Linked DNA regions of Homo sapiens: all the other regions are linked to region 3. Evidence: promoter capture Hi-C in human tissues and cell types (Jung and others, 2019). All regions are on one chromosome and are shown on one strand. The core of a region is centred on a gene start or on the middle of the fragment in contact, and the rest is flanking DNA. Distances in the headings are between cores, read along the strand shown.

Evidence for each region. Contacts are between HindIII fragments. The study calls those that stand out against the background at their distance.
Region 1: a contact is called between a fragment that was not itself captured here and the fragment with the promoter of HOXC5 in region 3, in 3 of the 25 tissues and cell types used here (neural progenitor cells, psoas muscle and small bowel).
Region 2: a contact is called between a fragment that was not itself captured here and the fragment with the promoter of HOXC5 in region 3, in 1 of the 25 tissues and cell types used here (neural progenitor cells).

What each region holds. Positions count from the first base shown.
Region 1 is chr12:54,070,006-54,073,041 of GRCh38, reverse strand. All of the region lies in intron 1 of FLJ12825 (a long non-coding RNA gene), which reads right to left. Among named protein-coding and RNA genes, the nearest start is that of FLJ12825, 13 kb to the right of the region's middle. The HindIII fragment of the contact is 5,968 bases long and covers 1-3,036 here.
Region 2 is chr12:54,086,814-54,089,678 of GRCh38, reverse strand. The region is part of intron 1 of FLJ12825 (a long non-coding RNA gene); the gene reads right to left. Among named protein-coding and RNA genes, the nearest start is that of FLJ12825, 30 kb to the right of the region's middle. The HindIII fragment of the contact is 9,088 bases long and covers 1-2,865 here.
Region 3 is chr12:54,031,598-54,034,761 of GRCh38, reverse strand. It overlaps HOXC5 (homeobox C5), which reads right to left and starts at 1,712. Exons shown (of 2, transcript NM_018953.4): 1 at 1,186-1,712; 2 at 1-484. The coding sequence starts at 1,639. The coding sequence ends at 270. MIR615 (microRNA 615) reads right to left here and starts at 812; the gene lies at 717-812. It also overlaps a transcript of HOXC4 not described here. RefSeq lists a silencer at 614-673 and enhancers at 757-1,908, 1,903-2,197. The HindIII fragment of the contact is 19,535 bases long and covers 1-3,164 here.

The DNA.
Region 1 (3,036 bases), core at 231-2,730, 39 kb before region 3:
GGGAAAAAACAAGATTCACTCAGGTAAGAAAAAGATTATGCGCCGGGCGCAGTGGCTCATGCCTGTAATCCCAGCACGCTGGGAGGCTGAGGCAGGCGGATCACGAAGTCAGGAGATCAAGACCATCCTGGCTAACACGGTGAAACCCCATTTCTACTAAAAATACAAAAAGTTTACTGGGCGTGGTGGCAGGTGCCTGTAGTCCCAGGTACTCAGGAGACTGAGGCAGGAGAATGGTGTGAACCCAGGAGGCAGAGCTTGCAGTGAGCCGAGATTGTGCCACTGCACTCCAGCCTGGGCAACAGAGCAAGACTCCGTCTCAAAAAAAAAAAAAAAAAAAAGAAAGAAAGAAAAAAGAAAAAGATTATGCATGAATTTATCAGGGTCTGGACCTCTGATTTGCTCTGACTATGGTGACCATTCATTCCATGGCTTAGTGCCAATTCATGAATAGTGTCCTGAAGCTCCCTCAGTACTCATAACTATAATAGTTTCCATTTCTAGAAGATTACTATATGCCAGTTGCTTTATACTGAATTTGATGAGGAAATCTATTCTCAGAAAGGTTAAGTCACCCACCCAAGGTCACATCACTAGATCTGAACCCTGGCTGTGTGTTTCCCTATCTGCTAGGTTTTAATACTTTCAAACCATGCCTTATGGGTTAGATATACAGTAGATAATCATAGAAATGGAAGGGATTTTTCCCCCTCTGGAATAGTTTTATATCCTCTGGACATACAGGGGGCCCCATGAAGTACTTCTACACTGGTTTCTATAGTGGCTGACCCAAATGCACGTATATTATCAGAATTTCCATCCCCCTGATTTAAGTTTTACTGGCAGCCTCTGTGATTTTTTGGTGTGATAACTACCCTCACCACTTAGAGTCCACCCATTTCCCAGGACTAGAAATATACTCATAATTGCAGGCATCTGGTTTCTAGGGGAGTCCCTGAGTTCCCACTTCCTCAGGCAGAATCTAGCTTTCCCACAAGGATCAGGCAATGTGAAACTGAGAAGTATCTAGAGATTAATCTTCAGGGCCCCTCATCTCCCTAAGCATACCCCCTAAGCACTACTTTTCTGATTCTATCCTTGTTTGATGAAGTATCCCAGTGGTGCTTTTGTATTTTAAAGGATGTGATCTGCAGAGGACTGTACTTAACACCATGTGCTTTAATGGTGGAACTTAAGGCTTTTTTGTGGCAGGATAATTGGGGAGGGGGAAACAGATCCTTCCCAGGGGCTTTAAACTGAATCACTGCAAAAGGCTGATCCTGCATCTCATTATCCATTACATCAGATGAAAGCTACAAAATTGGATCCCTTTATTCTATTTGAAACTAAGCAGATAGTGGGCTGATTTCTCTGTTTTCACCTGGCTATTGGCATCATGCAGACACCCTTTCCAACTTCCTGCCCCATCTTGTTTCTGCCTCTCTTCCCTCAGGGGCAGGGTCCTTAAGGGAAACAGCTCCCCATAGTGTGTCTGCAGGGGCTCTGTGGAAAAGGTTGAGTTGTCAAATAAGGAGACACCACAGCTAACACCCCCTACTCCCCCACCCCCCACCAACTCTGGAATGAAGATGGAGAGTTTTCTGTGCCTGGTTTGGTTCACAGAGACACATAGTCCATCATCTGATTTGCTACAAAGAGTATTCCTTCTCCCTGCCCCCCAGCATCCTTCAGTTTTTGCTTAGAGTCTCAGAGCTGGAAGGATCTTAGTGATAACCTAATCAAACCACTTCATTGTGAAGGAAGAGAAACTGAGGCTCAGACAGAGATCAGAACCCAGGTGTTCTGATCCCTGAACCAGTACTAGTCCCAGCACCATGCTGACTCTGGCTCTGTGTGTTTCAGCTGGATATTTTTGGAGTTGCTCCCTCCAAACCCCAGAATCCAAGCTTGCTCTCCATGGCAGGGAGAGTCACCAACCATCATAATAAGATGGACCCTTCTTCCTGGTTGTGGCCACTTTTTGGCACAAGCCTCATCATACACCATGCCCCATAATCCCACTGGAGCCATCTGTGATCTCTGCGATATTAGAGGGCTTCTCCCCTCTCCCTGCTTCTGTACCACATTACATATCAACTCACCTTAATCCATTTTCTAGAGCTGGCCAGGGCCCAGATAAGGGGCTGAAGGTCTTAGGACAGACAACAACGGGGTAAGGGAAGTTTTTGCCTCTAAATTCCCCACCTCCAGCCTCAGATGAGGAGAGAAAGAGGCTCTCTTGAATAAAAAAATTTCCTTAAGATCTTGTCAAGGCTTCTTCAAGCTTCAAGGGAGAAAACCTCTCTTATTGGATGAGTTTTATCTTACTGTCCAACGCTGAGGACTGGAGGCAAGGGATAGGGGTTTGAGCTTGGCCTGAAGAATCTGAATACACATAAGAAAGAATATATCAGTGATGAGAGCTCTCAGACAGTTGTGTTCTCTGAACATACCAGGTAAGTTCTCCTCCATCTGAGATGGCTAAGTTAACCTCACTGAGTTCTTTCCAGTTCCAAGATTCTGGTTAGAAACTTCCATTTCCCAGTGTTTGGTGGTCAGCCTAATCCCGGATTCCCCAGCCCATGCTCACTCAGTTTCCCAATGGGCCTTGGCTCCAGGAAACAGTTTTCAATTTCACGTTGGCTCTAAACAGCTTCCCCATCCCTAAGAAACATAACAAAATTGAGCCAACTTAAGAATAGGATCCACCAGATGACTTAGTCTGACATGGGCACAATGGCAGCGGACTAGGAATCCAGAGTCATGGTGTCAGTTAAGGGCTGAATTGTGTCTCCGCAAGTTCCATTTCTTGAAGTCCTAACCCTCAGTAACTCAGAATGTGACTGTATTTGGAGATAGGCCCTTTAAAGAGGTAATTAAGTTAAGGCAAGATTATATGGGTAGGCTCTAATTAAATATAACTACTGTCCTTATAAGAAGAGATCAGCAGGCCAGGTGCGATGGCTCATGCCTGTAATCCCAGCACTTTGGGAGGCCGAGGTGGGCGGATCACCTGAGGTCAGGAGTTCGAGACCA
Region 2 (2,865 bases), core at 101-2,600, 55 kb before region 3:
CAATTGCAATTCTGAACGCACACCCAGCCGCCTCCTCACTCCCTTTTAACCTTTCCCTCTTGTCAGAAGCCAAATTGAGTTAGTCTTGAGTTTTGATTTAATTCCCGAAATGGAGTCATAATCTGCTTAGTGTCCTTTTTCCCGAGTCCTAGATACTGAAGTGTGTGTGTCTGTCAGGGGGAGTTAAAAGAGCAGCTCTGTGACCTTTGGAGGACCCTCACACTCACTCACCTCCCAAACACCACCAAACAGCAGGAGACACCATGGCCCTGAGTTGCTGGGTAGTATGATGATGGTACTGACAACTCACATTTACTGGGCACTTACCACATGCCAGTACTGAGACATGCACTATACACGCATTTCTCACTTAATTCTCACAACTACCTTTCAGGTAGGTACCATTCATATCCCCAATTTACAGATGAAGAAACTGAGGCTTAGCGAGGTTAAGCAATTTATGTTCCATCCTGCAGTGATTACAGACGGTCCTCGACTTATGATGCTTTGACTTACAATTTCTCAGCTTTATGATGATGCCGAAGTGATATGCATTCATTAGATACTGTACTTCTAATACTCATACAGCCGCTCTGTTTTTCACTTTCAGCACAGTATATTATAACATGTTGAATCTCATGTTGAATACATGAGATGAATACATATCTCATGTTGAATACATGAGATGAATACATATCTCATGTTGAATACATGAGATATTCAACACTTGATTATAAAATAGGCTTTGTGCTAGATGATCTTGCCCAACTGTAGGCTGATGAAAGTGTCCTGAGCACTTTAAGGTAAGCGAGGCTGAGCTATGATGTTTGGTGGGTTAGGTGTATGAAATGCATATCCACCTTACAATATTTTCAGCTTACTACAGCTTTATCGGGACACAGCCTCATTGTAAGTCAAGGAGAGTCTATTATTAAGTGGCAGAGCCCAAATTTGAAACTATACAGTCAGACTGCAGAGCCTGTGCTCTTAACCACTTAGTTGTGTGACACCTGGCAAGGTATTTAACTTCTACACGCCCTGTTCCCTCATTTGCAAAACACAGGTAAGTAGGGATGATAAGATATTCCCTTCAAAGAATTATGTTGATTAATTGAGCTAAGGCATTCACCGTACTCACAGTAAGCATCCAATAGTTTAGGTGCCCTACACATTGGAGCAGGGTTGAGGAAGGGAAAGGGTACAATCCAATGGGCTATTAATTATTCATTGTTACTGTTGATAATAATAGTTATCAAGCATTGAGAGCCAACTGAGCATAGGCCACCCTACAAGGTAAAAATTATGTCTGTTTTACAGATGAAGAAACTGAGTTTCACATAAATTAGGTAAATTACCTAAAGCCATCCAGTTAATAAGTGACAGAACAGAGCTCTTGTTTAAACACTGGGCCCTTGACTCCAAAGCCTGCAGTTCCCAGCACCCCCAGGGTCATCAAAAACTGGCCTCTCCTGGGGGAGGTCAGGGCTCAGGCCAACAAGCCCAAGTCACACCCTTTACCACCTGGGACCTGATTTTCTCCAGGTGAGCAATGTTTTCTTAAAAGAACAGGAGGACAGTAAATAATTAACTAAGACAGTTTCTCCCTCCCTGAAGCCAAGGTAGAACCTCCCCCCTACAGCCAACCCCCACTCTCCTCACTCCTGTTTCCTCTGTGCTCAAGTTTGTGGCCATTAAATAGAAGAGGAGAAAGTTTGAACCAGGCATGAAATATTTATCAGTTAATTACAATATGCAGATTCTGTTCCTAGGGGTGATTTATCTTTTTGGAAATATAGGAAAAGATCCTGGAAACTTGTATCCTAATTGCTTGGCCTATTATTGTAGCAACCAGGTAGAAACTCCATTTACTATGTAACTACAAATTTTCCCACTACTGGAGGTATCTGCCTCTGCTTCTATCACTGGTGGTCTGGGGACCATATGCTTTTCTGATAAGAGATGAGCCTCTTAGAGGTCAATCTGTCGATTCCTCTGTCTCCTCTTGGGGTGGCCCCTTTGTAAATTCTAATAGTTATAGGAAATGAAAAGGGTGAGAGTCTGAAATTCTGGGATCTCAAGAGAAGCTAATTCTAAGTGAAAACTTCCCCAACTGAAGCAGTGCCACTGGTAGGGGATGTCCAAGGTTGAGAAGCAGCTCTCAGCTGAGCATCCCTCCCCTCCCTTGCTCTGGCAGAAGTGTCAGCCCTCCCCTTATCTCTTGTATCATTTCCTAGGGCCTGCATCTCAACCTCTGGCTACACATTAGCAACCTGGGGAGTTTTAAAAATCCAGATGCCCAGGCCCTACTACAGGCCAACCAAATTGGAATCTCTGGAGGTGGGACCCAGGCATCAGTATTTTAAAAAACTTGTGGCGGGGCATGGTGGCTCACACCTGTAATCCCAGCATGTTGGGAGGCCGAGGCGGGTGGATTACCTGAGGTGAGGAGTTCGAGACCAGCCTGGCAAACATGGTGAAACCCCGTCTGTATTAAAAATACAAAAATTAGCCAGGCATGGTGGCAAGCACCTGTAATCCCAGCTACTCGCGAGGCTGAGGCAGGGATAATTGCTTGAACCCAGGAGGCAGAGGTTGTATGTAGTGAGCCGAGATGTGCCACCGCACTCTAGCCTGGGCGACAAGAGCAAGACACCATCTCAAAAACAAAAACGAACAAACAGAAAAACTCGCTGGGGATTCCAGTGTGCAGCGAAAGTTGAGACCCTCTAGAGCTAATAGAAGAGTATCAGTGCCCGGTAAATGGGCCCTGCTTATCTGCAAGACTGTGTAATTTTTATCCCTCCCTCTCTGGTGCTGGAGGAGGCAATTCCTTCACTTTTTGGAATCTGAAGAACATCTCTCTTT
Region 3 (3,164 bases), core at 463-2,962:
CCGGGGAAGTCCTGCGGAGCTTGCCCTGGGCCCCGGGTACCGAGCTGAGCCGAGCTGAGGGGAGATGGGGCAGCGCCGACAGCCCCGCGGGAACCCTGGGTCGGTAGGGATGCGGAATGCCAAGGAAAAGCGCTTTTGTCTGTGGGGCCCGGGAGCCCAGTGCTCCAGCACCTGCCCCCGACCCGAAATATAGAGAGGAAAGGCGAAAAGGAAAGGCGCAGGGACAGGAACCGGCTAGGGGCGCGCTCTGCGGGCCTCCCCCGCTGCCTCTAAAGAGCCTCTTTGCTTTTCATTTTGGAATCTTTCTTCCACTTCATCCTGCGGTTCTGGAACCAGATCTTGATCTGTCTCTCATTGAGACACAAGTTGTTGGCGATCTCTATGCGCCTGCGGCGAGTGAGGTAGCGGTTAAAGTGGAATTCTTTCTCGAGTTCCAGAGTCTGGTAGCGCGTGTAACTGGTTCGGGACCGCTTGCCGTCCGTCTCTGGAACATAAACCCCACCCCAAGCCAGGAAGGGGTGAATAGCTTGCAGCGTTCCCCCGTCCCCACCCCAGCCCAGGCCCCCACCCGCGGCCGGAGGGAGAGGAGGCGAGAGCCGCAAGACAGGCCACGCGGGCCGCAGGCGGGCCAGCCCAGCCCAGCCCCGGGAGAGGCGCCTCCGCCCAGGCAGGAAACTTTCCACCGCAGCCTTCACTCTGCAGCCGGAGGGGCTGAGGGGGGGTTGGGGGGAAGAGGGAGACCCAGGCTCGGACCGAACAATAAGCACCCTCGAGATCCGAGCACCGGGGACCCCCCTCCCGCCCCTCCCGAGTCGCTGGAATCCTCCGGAGCCGCAAGCGCCGGCGGAGCCGGCTCCGCAGGGGAGGGAGGGAGGGAGCCGCGGGGGGATCCCCGCTCTGGAGCCCCGCGCTCCTCACCCTTCAGATCCCTCTATTTTTTTAACTCCCTCCCTCTCCCCCAAAAATTGAATATTGCCTTTTATACACGTTTTGTTCCTATGATCCAATTATGTCGTCGTAAATTTGGGCGCACACAGCCTCTAAGCCTTTTAGTGGACAGTTTTACGAGCCATTGATGCCTGGATCGTAAAATTTATGGCCGCAGGTTTTTTTTCTTTATTTGCCCCGCATGGCCTATAAAACCCAGGCGGACCCGAGAGCGCAAAATGAAGTCCTAAAGTTTACCGTGGCTCATGTGCAGTTTGGTCATCCACGGGTAAATCTGTGGCGGGGCCGGTGGCTGGCTCAGTCCGGCGGGCTGCCCTGTCTGCGCCTGCTCCTCTTTGATCTCCCCACTGCTCTTAGCTCGCTCCTCCAGCGCCGGGCGAGCCGCCTTCTGACTGTACATCCCGGGGTTCAGAGGAGCCGCTTCGTCTCTGCCCGGAGCGTGTCCCGGAGCGGCCGCGGCGCTGCAGGCGGGGCGGTCGGGGTGAGCCCGGGGGTTGGCAGCCATGTCTACCCCGTGGAGAGAGTTGGAAGGCGCAGGCGGTGGGAAAGTGATGCTTAAGTCCAATCCGCCGTAGCAGTACCTGGATGCCTGCACCTCTGAGGCCGATCCATAGTTCCCACAAGTTTGCATGTTATAGGCAGGGATATTGGGGCTCTGCTTATAGAATGAATTGGCTACGTAGGAGCTCATGGCGGGGAGGGCCCAAAAAAATTTCTGCACCCTTTTTGATTAAGGGTGATTTGTGACTCTTTGAAGTTGAGGGGTTTTTTGTTCTCCAAAGTGGACAATTTATAGGTGGAGATATCTCTTTCTTTATCCTATGCGCTCTTCCCAAATAAGGGAGCCTTAAATAGAGTCACGTGACTCGAGCGGCCACTCATAAATTTGGCTTGATGACCTCCGGGAGGTTAGTGATGGAAGCCGGCGAAAAGCATCTCGATATGTTGGCAAAGCCCAACCAAGGGGGAGAGGGAGTGAGAGAGAGAAAGAGGGAAGGGGGAGGGAAAAAAAAAAAAAGGTTCTTGGAATTGGGGGTAGCCGGGACAACAAGCCCACAGCGACACCTGGTGCCTATGTGGGGGAATTGCATCCTGGAGCGCCAGCTTGCTTTCCGGTGGCTGGATTTCCTACACTGTGAAGGAGAAGCTGGTTGTTGGGGCAACCCCTGAGCTAGCCTTTTAAATTCTATTTAAAATTGGGAAAAGACGAGGCCCCACTTATAACGCACAGAGTGCTTTTTGTAATGAAAGTCCCGTTCTCCCAACCTCCAGGGTCTTCCAATCTTCAAAAATGGCTGAGGAAAGGGGATTAAGTTAGGTAAGGTGGCCTATGCCCAGGCTGGAGAACCAATGGGGTTTAACTTAGGTTCCCTAAACCAAAGGTAGAAGTCCCTTGCCTCTCAGGCCCTAAGGCTCCACTACTGCTGAAGAGGTGCCTATCAGCAAGAGAAAGTAGAATTAGCTTCTGAAGAGGTAGACAGGACGCCCAGGAGGAGGGATCCTGAGTGGTCAGAACAAGATAGGGGGGTCATGAAGCTGAGGGTGTTGCAGGCTGTTTGGGATGGATCTGGAGGTGAGGAGCCAGGTGGAGTTGGCTAGACCTCACCATGCTAGGGTCCCCAGAGTGGCAACAAGGCAATTTTCAAGTGTGTGTGTGGACACGGACAGAGCCAGACAATGGTCTAGAGGACTGCTCTGTTTCCCTGTGTGCGATCCTTATGTGGTACCTATGCCAGAGGTTTTAGACAGAAAATAGATGTTAATTGAGGACATGGAGAAGCAAGATTGAAGCCTCCACAAATATTACGTGAGCATGGCAGAGGAAAAGGCCCGTTATGTGCCCTTTGGGGAAAAGGTCTCTGGGCTAGGCTTTCCAGGGACCTGAATCCATAAGGTTCACAAGAGAGCAATTTCTGAGCTACCAAGAGGAATGGGGCGGACCTGGGGGGTGGGCAGGGCAGGCGCCTGGGTAGCCTTCGCAGGGTATCTGCAGCCATTCGGCCCCATCCTCTTCCCCCGTAGCCCCAAGTCTCATACTTCCCTGCCTGCTTCTTCCCAGGAAATCTCCGCCCCGCCAGGAGAAGGCCCCCTCCTCACTGGTGGAGGCACTGGAGGCGAGGGTGGGGGCGCTGGAGGGAATCTGAAGGGCCCGGAAAACTCTGGCGGATTTTTTCCCTCCGGAGACCCTCCTCAACACCTCTCCCTGTAGGCCCACT